Linked DNA regions of Homo sapiens: all the other regions are linked to region 2. Evidence: promoter capture Hi-C in 16 types of primary human blood cells and fetal thymus (Javierre and others, 2016). All regions are on one chromosome and are shown on one strand. The core of a region is centred on a gene start or on the middle of the fragment in contact, and the rest is flanking DNA. Distances in the headings are between cores, read along the strand shown. Region 1 has its middle 30 kb from the start of RBAKDN. Region 2 holds the start of PAPOLB (poly(A) polymerase beta). Region 3 has its middle 15 kb from the start of RBAKDN.

Region 1 (3,871 bases), core at 214-2,713, 240 kb before region 2:
GATTACAGGCACGTGCCACTACGCCTGGGTAATTTTGTATTTTTAGTTTAGAAACATGGGGTTTCACCATGTTGGTCAGGCTGGTTTTGAACTCCTGACCGCAGGTGATCCACCTAACTTGGCCTCCCAAAGTGCTGGGATTACAGGCATGAGCCACCATACTGGACCATTTTCCCCATTCTTATACATACCTCTCCAATATCACAATGACCTTTTCCCACCTGGAAATTTACTCATTCTTCAGGCCCAGATGAAACGTCAGCTCCTCTGTAAACAAAAGTAAGAGCGGAGTCAACTGTAGAAGGATTTTGTAGGAAATGGGAGGAGACGGACTCTACCACACCTTTCTCCCTTATCTCTGTCAATCTTTCAACTTCTATTCCCAGTAAGAAGGGAATACTTATACTCTTAATAAGAAAATAGTTACTTAATAGGTTTCCCAGGGCCCACTTAAGGGTCTGGCTTGATCCAAAGCCCCAGGGCCTCATTACTGATCTTCTCCCCCAACACTGTGGTGCCTAAGTGACAGGATGGTCTCTGAAGGATGAGGGCTGGAGGGATGAGAGGGAGTGGAAGAGTTGGGAATTCAAAACTGCCGAATCCTGGGGGAATCTGAAACTTCTGGGCTAAGGGGATAAGAGGCCACCTCCCTGCAGTGATGAAGAGACTGTACAAGTCTTGGGATAAACTTGAACCTAGGAAATGAATAGCCAAAATACCTATCTCCAGAGAGGTAGGCAGCTCTCTGGAGAGAGGAGAGGAAAGTTACAGCTCTGTCCACATTTTCTTAAAATGTAAACCAAAGGGTGGCCAGAAGACGGATGATCTCAGAGTGGACTGATTCTTGGTGTAATGTGATCAAGATGGTGGACTAGGAGGTCCTAGCCCTTGTACTCCCACAAAAACAATGATTTAACAACTATCCACAGACTAAAATAGCTCTGGGAGAACTCCCAGAGTCCAGTTAAAAAGATGCAGCCACCGAGTAGAGCAGAAAAGCCAAGAATAACTGCATAGAAAAGAAACATGACATCACCAAAGGAACACAACACATTTCAAATGACCAACCCCAAAGAAAAGGAGATCTATGAATTAACTGAAAAAGAATTCAAAATAACTGTTTTAAAGAAGCTCAGCATGTTACAAGAGAACACAGATACAACTCGTCAAAATCAGATAAACAATATATGAACAAAATGTAAAGTTCAACAGAGATACAGAAATCACAAAAAAAGAAATTCTAGAGCTGAGGTGAACAAGGACTAAAATGAAAAAATGCCATTTAGAGCTTCAACAGCAGTGGCTTATGCTTGTAATCTTAGAACTTTGGGAAGCTGAAGCAGGCAGATTGCTTGAGGCTAGGAGTTCAAGACCAGCATAAGCAACACGGCAAAACCCTATTTAAAAAAAAAATTTTTTTTTAAATTATCAGGGTATGGTGGTGTACACCTGTAGTCCCAGCTACCCAGGAGGCTGAGGTGGGAAGATCACGTGAACCCAGGAAGTCAAGGCTGCAGTGACCCATGATTACACCACTGCACTCTACCCTGGGTGACAAAGTGAGATCCTGTCTCAAAACAAAACAAAACAAAAAATCAATGAACATGAAGATGAAGATAAGTCATTTGAAATCATTTAGTTAGAGGAGAAAGAGAGGCTACAGTGAGCCATGATCATACTACTGCACTCCAGTGGGAAACAGAATGAAGGAGGGAGTGATGAGAAATTGGTTAATAAGTACACAAATACAGTTAGATAGAAGGAATAAGTTCTTGTGTTTCATAGCACAGTTGGGTGACTATAGTTAGCAATAATTTATTGTATATTTCAAAATCGCTAGAAGAAAATATTTAAAATGTTTCCAACACAAAGAAATGACAAATAGTTGAGGTGATGGATATCCTAATTACCCTGATTTGATCAATACACATTGTATGCATGTAGTAAACCTTGAGGCCAGGGTTTTGAGACCAGCCTAGGCAACAAAGCAAGACCCTGTTCCTGCGGGGAAAAAAATTAAACAATTAACCAGACATGATGGTGTGCACCTGTGGTCTCAGCTACTTAGGATGCTGAAGCAGAAGGATCACTTGAGCCCAGGAGTTCGCAACTGCAGTGAGGCAGGATCACACCACTATACTCCAGCCTGGGTGACACAGCAAGACTTCGTCTAAAAAAAAAAAAGTTGGGCTAGGTGCAGTGGCTCACACCCATAATCCCAGCACTTTGGGAGGCTGAGGTAGGTGAATCACAAGGTTAGGAGTTCGAGACCAGCCTGGCCAATGTGGTAAAACCCTCTCTCTACTAAAAATACAAACAATTAGCTGGGCATGGTAGTAAGTGCCTGTAATCCCACCTACTCGGGAGCCTGAGGGAGGAGAATCGCTTGAATCCAGGAGGTGGAGGTTGCAGTGAGCCGAGATCGCGCCCCTGCACTCCAGTCCGGGCGACAGTGGGAGACTCTGTCTAAAAAAAAAAAAAAAAAAAAAAAAAAATTCAGCCGGGTCTGGTGGCTGACACCTGTAATCCCAGCACTTTAGGAGGCCGAAGTGGGCAGATCACCTGAGGTCAGTAGCTTGAGACCAGCCTCACCAATGTGGTAAAACCCTGTCTTTACTAAAAATACAGTATTAGCTAGGCGTGGTGGCACGTGCCTGTAATCCGAGCTACTCGGGAGGCTGAGGCAGGAGAATCACTTGAACCTGGGAGGTGGAGGTTGCAGTGAGCCAAGATCGTGCCAATGCACTCCAGCCTGGGCAAAAAGAGCAAAACTCCATCTCAAAAAAAAAATCTCATCAAAGAAGAACCACAGATTCACTGCTGAATTCTACCAAACATTTAAAGTACCAATGCCAATTTTTCTCAAACTTTTCCAGAAAATCGAAGGGAAGGAATTCTTCCAATATCATTCTACAAGGCCAATATTACTCTAAGACGAAAACCAGACAAGAACACAACACAAAAAGAAAACTACAGGCCAATATCCCTGATGAACACAGATGCAAAGATCCTTAACAAAATACTAGCAAACCAAATCCAGCAGCACATTATAAAGATCCTTCACGGCCGGGCGCGGTGGCTCATGCCTGTAATCCCAGCACTTTGGGAGGCCGAGGCAGGCAGATCACGAGGTCTGGAGTTCGAGACTAGCCTGGCCAACATGGTGAAACCCTGTCTCTACTAAAAATACAAAAATTAGCTGGGCGTGGTGGCACACACCTGTAATCCCAGCTACTTGGGAGGCTGAGGCAGAAGTACTGCTTGAACCTGGGAGGCGGAGGTTGCAGTGAGCCAAGATCGCACTACTGCACTCCAGACTAGGTGACAGAGTGAGATTCTGTCTCAAAAAAAAAAAAAAAAAATCCTTCACTGTGATCAAGTGAGATTTATCCCAGAGATACAAGGATGGTTCAACATTTGCAAATCAATAAATGTGACACATTACATCAACAGAACGAAAGACAAAAACTGTATAATCATCTCAAGAGATGCTGAGAAAGCATTTGATGAAATTCAACATTGCTTTATGACAAAACTCTGAACAACATAGGCATATAACGAATGTACTGCCGCTCAATGAAGGCTACATATAGCAAACCCACAGCTAACATCATACAGAATGGGGAAAAGCTTAAAGCTCTTCCTCTTGGAACTGGGACAAGATATAAATGCCCACACTCGCCACTCTTATTCAATAGTACTGGAAGTCCTAGACAGAGCAATTAGTCAAGAGAAAGAAATAAAGGGAATTCAAACTAGAGAAGAGCCGTGAAATCATCCCTGTTTCCAGACAACATGGTCTTATATATAGAAAATCCTAAAAGCTCCACCAAAAAAAATTTTTTTTTTTTTTTTTTTTTTTAAGATGGAG
Region 2 (4,198 bases), core at 798-3,297:
GGATTAATTATCCCAGAAAATCTTTCTATGTAAAGTGCCTGGAAATGTTGGATAAATATAAGAAATCATTTTTTTGAATGCATAGCTGAGTACCCAGGAAAATAAAGGAAGTCTCTAGGGCTGGAAGAAAAAGGGATACCTTGAAACCTCAGGATTGTAGCTGATTCTGAAACTAGAACCGCCCTAGAGGCATTGGCCAGTCTTGGAAACTGAGAAACTTAAGTTTAGCAGCTGTCCAAGAAGAGACAGAAAGCTCTTGGGACCTTAAAAGGTAGGGAGTTAGAATTGAGACCCCTCCAAATACAATTGGAATCCTCAAAGGGTGACACATTGAGTGAAAAAATGGAGTAAGAAGAATCTGCTACCTGGTGAAAGGAGATGGCAAAGGAAGTTCTCTCTCTTGACTTGGGTGGGAAAAACTAAAGACTGTTCCTTAAAAATGAAAACCACATGTCCTCTTACATGTATTTGGGGTTCAAAGTTGCACCATCTAGATGTTGTGGATAATCCCTGGATAAGAAATTACACTGACTGCAATTCTATAGTGTACAAGAACATCTACTGGAAACAAAGCAAATCCTCTTTGGAAGGACACAGCGTCTACACAGGCATTCCAAGCTTCACCAGAAATGAGCTCACAATCCAAAATTACAAGACCCAAGAGGTAATACCACTCTGAGTTCTTGGATAACAACAAACTATACAGTTTCTCAAGAGCATTCGGAATTAGAATAATTAGTTATAGAGTACTAAATAAGTATGTTTAACACGTTTAAAGAAATAAAAGGTAGGGGGAAAAACATGAAAGAACAGAATGCCATCTAAAAGGCAGAGAAGCTTGGAAAAGAACAAAATAGTGAAATATAAGTATTTAAGTGGATATTTCAATGATGCTTAAACAGCAGACTAAATACAACTGAAGAGAGGACTTGGAGGTAATCTGGCATCACCCAGAAAGACACACGGCTTAAGAGACATGGAGGACAGAGTGAGAAGGTTGACAACGTGTCTAGATGAAGAGAATCAGGAGACAAGTGGGAGAACATATTCCCAGGAAGTGCCCAAGAAGCTTCTGGAGATCATAAAAAGCATGACTTCTGATTCGGGAATCATAGTGTATCCTGGGTAAGATTATATTTTTTATTTTTTATTTTTATTTTTAATTTTATTTTTTTTTTTGAGACAGAGTTTCACTCTTGTTGCCCAGGCTGGAGTGCAATGGTGTGATCTTGGCTCACCGCAACCTCTGCCTCTCAGGTTCAAGCAATTCTCCTGCCTCAGCCTCCCGAGTAGCTGGGATTACAGGCATGCACCACCACGCCCGGCTAATTTTGTATTTTTAGTAGTGACGGGGTTTCTCCATGTTGAGGCTGGTCTCCAACTCCTGACCTCAGGTGATCTGCCCGCCTCGGCCTCCCATAGTGCTGGGATTACAGGCGTGAGCCACTGCGCCCAGCCTGGGTAAGATTATTAAAGAGAAATCTATGCCTGGACACACAGTGGTGGGATCACAGGGCACTAGGGACAGACACTTTTATAGCTGCCATAAGAAAAGACAGACGAGCAGTAGTTCACCTAGCTGCGGAATTCTCAACGGGAACCAGAGGACAGCAGTATCGCGCCCTTAAAGCATGGCCAGAACACAAATGTCGACCTCGAAATGCTGCCCCAGCTAAACCAATGTCCAGCAACGGCCCAAGAAACAAGACAGAAGCTGCTTTCCACCGCGGGTTCCCACCACGAAGGGGTCTTTGGACTTCCAAAGGGTGCACGCTAGGGTGAAGAGTGCTGAGGGTGCCCCCAAAAAGGATGCACATCTGCGATGTCAAGGGACTTGGAGAGCAAAGAATTAGATGGGTAAAGTTGGGCAAATATGTAAAATAGTGGCAATAAAGGGTTGAGTTTGGCCGGTCATCAACAACGTGAATCCTGCCCACCCCCATGTATAGCCCCCCGCGCAGCGGTAGGAGCCCCAGCCCAGAACGCTGTGGCTCCCGTGAGCCCTCGCGCTGGCGGCGGGTGCGCAGGCGCCCGCGCGTGTACGGTAGGTTCTGGAACGCAGCCGCTGAGGGGTCTGGCGCCATGTTGGGGCTGAGGGGAAGGAGGAGAAGCTCCTGAAGCGGCGGGCGCGCAGCGGGAGTGGGAGTGGGGTCGGACCAGGGCAGCTAGAAGCCCTGCCCTTCCGCCTCAGCGGATCATGACCCGGGCGGCGGCCGCGAAGGTCGCGGTGGTGGGGGACGTGCCCTGGCGGGGCGGGCGCTGAAAGATGATGCCGTTTCCGGTGACAACCCAGGGACCACCGCAGCCGGCGCCGCCGCCGAATCGCTACGGCGTCTCCTCGCCTATCAGTCTAGCGGTCCCCAAGGAGACGGACTGCCTCCTCACCCAGAGGCTAATAGAAACCCTCAGGCCCTTCGGGGTCTTCGAAGAGGAAGAGGAACTGCAGCGCAGGATTTTAGTTTTGGAAAAATTAAATAATCTGGTAAAGGAATGGATACGCGAAATCAGTGAAAGCAAGAGTCTTCCCCAGTCTGTAATTGAAAACGTTGGAGGAAAGATTTTTACGTTTGGCTCTTACAGATTAGGAGTACATACGAAAGGCGCAGATATTGACGCCTTGTGCGTTGCACCAAGTCATGTGGATCGAAGCGACTTTTTCACCTCATTCTATGCTAAACTGAAACTACAGGAGGAAGTGAAAGATTTAAGGGCTGTCGAGGAGGCATTTGTGCCAGTTATCAAACTGTGTTTTGATGGGATAGAGATTGATATTTTATTTGCAAGATTAGCACTACAGACTATTCCAGAAGATTTGGACTTAAGAGATGACAGTCTACTTAAAAATTTAGACATTAGATGCATAAGAAGCCTTAATGGTTGCCGGGTAACCGATGAAATTTTACATCTAGTGCCAAACATTGACAACTTCAGGCTGACTCTGAGAGCCATCAAACTGTGGGCCAAGTGCCACAATATCTATTCCAATATATTAGGTTTCCTCGGAGGTGTTTCCTGGGCCATGCTAGTAGCAAGAACTTGTCAGCTTTATCCAAATGCAGTAGCGTCAACTCTTGTACGGAAATTCTTCTTGGTATTTTCAGAATGGGAATGGCCAAACCCAGTGTTACTGAAGGAGCCTGAAGAACGGAATCTTAATTTGCCTGTATGGGACCCAAGAGTAAATCCCAGTGATAGGTACCATCTTATGCCTATCATCACACCAGCATACCCACAGCAGAACTCCACATACAACGTGTCTATTTCAACCAGGATGGTCATGATTGAGGAGTTTAAACAGGGGCTTGCTATCACACACGAGATTTTGCTAAGTAAGGCAGAGTGGTCCAAACTCTTTGAAGCTCCAAGCTTCTTTCAAAAGTACAAGCATTATATTGTACTTCTGGCAAGTGCATCAACAGAAAAACAACATTTAGAATGGGTGGGCTTGGTGGAATCAAAGATCCGAATCCTGGTTGGGAGCTTGGAGAAGAATGAATTTATTACACTGGCACATGTGAATCCACAGTCATTTCCAGCACCCAAAGAAAATCCTGATATGGAAGAATTTCGTACAATGTGGGTGATTGGGTTAGGGCTAAAAAAGCCAGATAATTCTGAAATTCTCAGCATTGATCTCACCTATGATATCCAGTCTTTCACAGATACTGTTTATAGGCAAGCAGTGAATAGTAAGATGTTTGAGATGGGTATGAAAATTACTGCAATGCATTTAAGAAGAAAGGAACTTCACCAGCTGCTGCCTCATCATGTGCTTCAGGACAAGAAAGCACACTCAACAGAAGGTAGAAGATTGACAGATTTGAACGACAGCAGCTTTGACTTGTCTGCAGGCTGTGAAAACAGCATGTCTGTGCCTTCATCTACTAGCACTATGAAGACAGGCCCATTGATTAGCAGTTCTCAGGGTAGAAACAGTCCTGCCTTGGCTGTAATGACAGCATCTGTGGCTAACATACAGGCTACTGAATTTTCCTTGCAACAGGTGAATACCAATGAAAGTTCAGGGGTTGCATTAAACGAAAGTATTCCTCACGCTGTCTCTCAGCCTGCCATTTCTCCATCACCAAAGGCCATGGTCGCCAGAGTTGTTTCTTCAACATGTCTCATAAGCCATCCAGACCTTCAGGAAACTCAGCAACAAACATATCTAATCCTATAGTTGGAGTCTAGAGGATAT
Region 3 (3,809 bases), core at 983-3,482, 220 kb before region 2:
ACTACAATTTGTCGTCAGAGGGCAGTGTTTTGCCCTGTTCTTCTGGAGAGAGGCGGGACTTCCTCCAGGTGTGTTCAGGAGTCCCCACAAATGGCTTCAGGAAATTAGAGGCCTGGAAGGCTCCCCCTGTCTTCACAAGCCCAGGCTCTACACTCTGGAGCCAAACACAGCAGCCCAAGAGGGCGGGAATCCCATTCCCATGGGCGGTGCTATTTCTTCCTTCCTTTTTTTTTTTTTTTTTTTTTTTTTTCGGAGACAGAGTTTCACTCTTGTTGCCCAGGCTGTAGTGCAATGGCGCAATCTCGGCTCACTGCAACCTCCGCTTCCTGGGTTCAAGTGATTCTCCTGCCTCAGCCTCCTGAGTAGCTGGGATTACAGGCATAAGCCACCATGCCCGGCTAATTTTTGTAGTATTAGTAGAGACGGGGTTTTACCATATTGGCCAGGCCTGTCTCAAACTCCTGACCTCGTGATCCACTCACCTAGGCCTCCCAAAGTGCTGGGATTACAGGCGTGAGCCACCGCGCCTGGCCAAAGTGCTATTTCTGTTCCCATTCTGTGGACAAATAAATGAGATCTTAATGGGGTATTTGGGGTACGAGCTGGAGGGGTTGCTCTCAGCCAGTGTCTTTGCCTGCAATATTGTCCCCCATTTCATGCACACCCCAATACTGAAACTTACCCCATTGCTCTTGCAGTAGACTGAACATGTTCCCCCCAACATTTATATGTTGAAACCTACCCTCTAAGGTAATGGTATTATGAGACATGGGCCTTTGGGAGGTGATTGGGTGTTACCCTCACGAATGGCATAGTGCCCTTATATTAATAAAAGGGATGGCCGGGTGCGGTGGCTCACACCTGTAATGCCTGCACTTAAGGAGGCTGAGGCTGGAGGATCATGAGGTCAGAAGTTCAAGACCAGCCTGCCCAACATGGTGAAACCCCGTCTCTACTAAAAATACAAAAAATTAGCTGGGCATGGTGGCAGATGCCTGTAATCCCAGCTACTTGGGAGGCTGAGGCAGGAGAATGGCTTGAACCGGGGAGGTGGAGGCTGCAGTGAGCCGAGATCATGCCACTGCACTCCAGCCTGGGTGACAAGAGTGAAACTCCATCTCCATCAATCAATCGATCAATCAATGGGACCCCAGAGAGCTCCCTCTTTTTCCACCACATGAAGACACAACTAGAAGTCTGTGATCTGGAACCCAGAAGAGGACCCTCACCAGAAGCTGACCATGTACCCTGATCTCAGATCTTCAGTCTCCAGAGTTGTGAGAAATAGATATCTATTGTTGATAAGGCAGCCAGTCTATGGGACTTTGTTATGGCAGCCGAGACTGTCAAAGACAGCTCTAGAGGGGCTATGTGTCCAGGAGGGGATGAATCAGTCTTTTACTTCTTCTTTTTAAGACAGGGTCTCGCTCGGTCACCCAGGCTGGAATGCAGTAGTGTGATCTCAGCTCACTGCAACCTCTGCTTCCTGGGCTCAAGCGATCCTCCCACCTCAGCCTCCCAAATAGCTAGGACTACAGGCACGTACCACCATGCCCAGCTAGTTTTTGTAATTTTTGGTAGAGACGGGGTTTCGCCATGTTGCCCAGGCTGGCCTTGAACCTCTGAGCTCAAGTCATCTGCCCACCTCGGCCTCCCAAAGTGCTGGGATTACAGGCATGAGCTGCCGCGCCCACCCTCTCCTTTACTTCTCAGCTGTGAATGTTCTCCCATATCCTCGGACTCCCAGCCTGCTCCCAGGCTTCACAGTCCTATCTGATGAAGTAGGGGAGCACCAGCCACCCCCTTATCTCTCTAGCTCAGTCTATCCCCTCCAGGGGCTCTGGACTTCTCTCCAGGGCAGCCTGACCTAGGGGCGACACAGGAGTTTCCTTGACACTGGTACTATCTCTGAACATCTCTGCCTCCATCTCTGTTTTGAGGCTGGTCCATGGAGTCAATGAAGGGGTCCCCTCCTCTCCCCCAAAACCCTCATCTTAGCTCCTGCTTTTCCCAGGCCCTAAGATCCTGGGGGCAGGTCTTGTAGAGGGGGAGCCCTTGTGGGGGGCTTCAGGTACCCGCACTCTTTAGGAACAGGCACAGGTCTTGATGTTGCAGGCACAGGTCTGGATATTGATGGGAAATTGCGGTCAGAGTGGACAGCACCACCCATTCCCGGCATCTCCCATGATTTGGTCTTCAAGCCTTCACCTCATTCTCTGCCCACCTGGATCTTGTCAGCCCCAGAGAGAACCTGAGTCCAGAGGAGAAGCAGAACCCAGGCCACTGGGCAGTGGCAACCGCACAGACACCGACATCCCTGGGAGAGCCTGAGCCCACCGCCCAGAGCTCAGAGCCTGGAATAAGCAGCCCAGCGAAGAGCCCCGCTCCACCGCCCAGAGGAGCACCAGAGTGAGCTCGGCCTGGAACCCAGAGACCATCTTCAAAATCTCATCCCCAACCTCTCATAAATGCCACCTTGTCCCTGGCCCCCCTGTAATTACTTCAGCCCCTTGTTCCCTTCACAGCAGTAATTTTTTTTTTCTTTTTGAGACAGAGTCTGCCTCTGTTGCCCAGGCTGGAGTGCAGTGGTGCAATCTCGGCTCACTGCAACCTCCGCCTCCCGGGTTCAAGCAATTCTCCTTCCTCTGCCTCCCAAGTTGCTGGGATTATAGGCCAGCACGCCAGGCTAAATTTTTTTTTCTTTTTTTGAGACGGAGTCTCACTCTGTCGCCCAGGCTGCAGTGCAGTGGCGCAATCTCGGCTCACTGCAAGCTCTGCCTCCCGGGTTCAAGCGATTCTCCTGCCTCAACCTCCGGAGTAGCTGGGACTACAGGTGCCCGCCACACGCCCGGCTAATTTTTGTATTTTTAGTAGAGACAGGGTTTCACCGTGTTAGCCAGGATGGTCTCGATCTCCTGACCTCGTGATCTGCCCGCCTGGGCCGCCCAAAGTGCTGGGATTACAGGCGTGAGCCACCGCGCCCGGCCGATTATTTTAATAAGATGATTGAACATCTTCCTTATTAGATTGTAACCCACAAGGGCATTTATGTTGCCTGCGATGTCCCCCGGTCCTAGGGCAGCCCACCTGCTGATGCAGTTCTGAGTGCTGCCACCAGGGGGCAGGGCTGCCTCGCACTTGTCATGGGGACAGCGGCAGGACCCTCAAGAGGGCTTTAACTTGGTTGGGTTCGTATCTGCACCGGGCCATATCTGCACCTGGGAATACTCCACTCCCTCCCTGAGGTGTGAGTGGGGATGCTCCCAGCTCCAGGAGACACAGCTGTGGTGTCGCTGGCCAGGGTGCAGCTTTCTAGAGAGGTTCCATTTTCACACCTCCAAGTTCAGACCTTTTCTTTCCCTCTGCAGACTGGGGCGAGCGACCACCCAGCCCAGTGTAGAGGGGGTCTCATGTCTTACCACTCTTCATTTACACTTTTTTTTTTTTTTTTAAAGACGTCGGGTTAGCTCACCCCTGTCATCCTAGCACTTTGGGAGCCCCAGGCAGTCAGATCACGAAGTCAGGAGATGGAGACCATCTTGGCCAACATGGTGAAACTCCATCTCTACTAAAAATACAAAAATTAGCCGGGCATGGTGGCGGGCGCCTGTAGTCCCAGCTACTCAGGATGCTGAGGCAGGAGAATTGCTTGAACCCGGGAGGCGGAGGTTGCAGTGAGCTGAGGTCATGCCATTGCATTCCAGCCTGGTAACAGAGCAAGACTCTGTCTCAAAAAAAAAAAAAAAAAAAAAAAAAAAGGGACATAGGGTCTGGCTCTGTTTCCCAGGCTGGAGTGCAGTAGTGCAATC

What was found. The method cuts DNA at HindIII sites, captures the fragments that hold promoters and counts their contacts. A CHiCAGO score of 5 or more calls a contact.
Region 1: a fragment that was not itself captured here is called in contact with the fragment with the promoter of PAPOLB in region 2 in 6 of 17 cell types (M2 macrophages, endothelial precursors, erythroblasts and 3 more); the score reaches 9.9 in M2 macrophages.
Region 3: a fragment that was not itself captured here is called in contact with the fragment with the promoter of PAPOLB in region 2 in 10 of 17 cell types (M2 macrophages, erythroblasts, endothelial precursors and 7 more); the score reaches 10.8 in M2 macrophages.

What each region holds. Positions count from the first base shown.
Region 1 is chr7:5,100,209-5,104,079 of GRCh38, reverse strand. No RefSeq gene overlaps it. Among named protein-coding and RNA genes, the nearest start is that of RBAKDN, 30 kb to the right of the region's middle. The HindIII fragment of the contact is 4,338 bases long and covers 1-3,632 here.
Region 2 is chr7:4,859,879-4,864,076 of GRCh38, reverse strand. It overlaps PAPOLB (poly(A) polymerase beta), which reads left to right and starts at 2,047. Exons shown (of 1, transcript NM_020144.5): 1 at 2,047-4,198. The coding sequence starts at 2,267. The coding sequence ends at 4,180. The region is part of intron 2 of RADIL (Rap associating with DIL domain); the gene reads left to right. RefSeq lists an enhancer at 2,192-2,804. The HindIII fragment of the contact is 2,297 bases long and covers 1,072-3,368 here.
Region 3 is chr7:5,084,927-5,088,735 of GRCh38, reverse strand. No RefSeq gene overlaps it. Among named protein-coding and RNA genes, the nearest start is that of RBAKDN, 15 kb to the right of the region's middle. The HindIII fragment of the contact is 5,458 bases long and covers 1-3,809 here.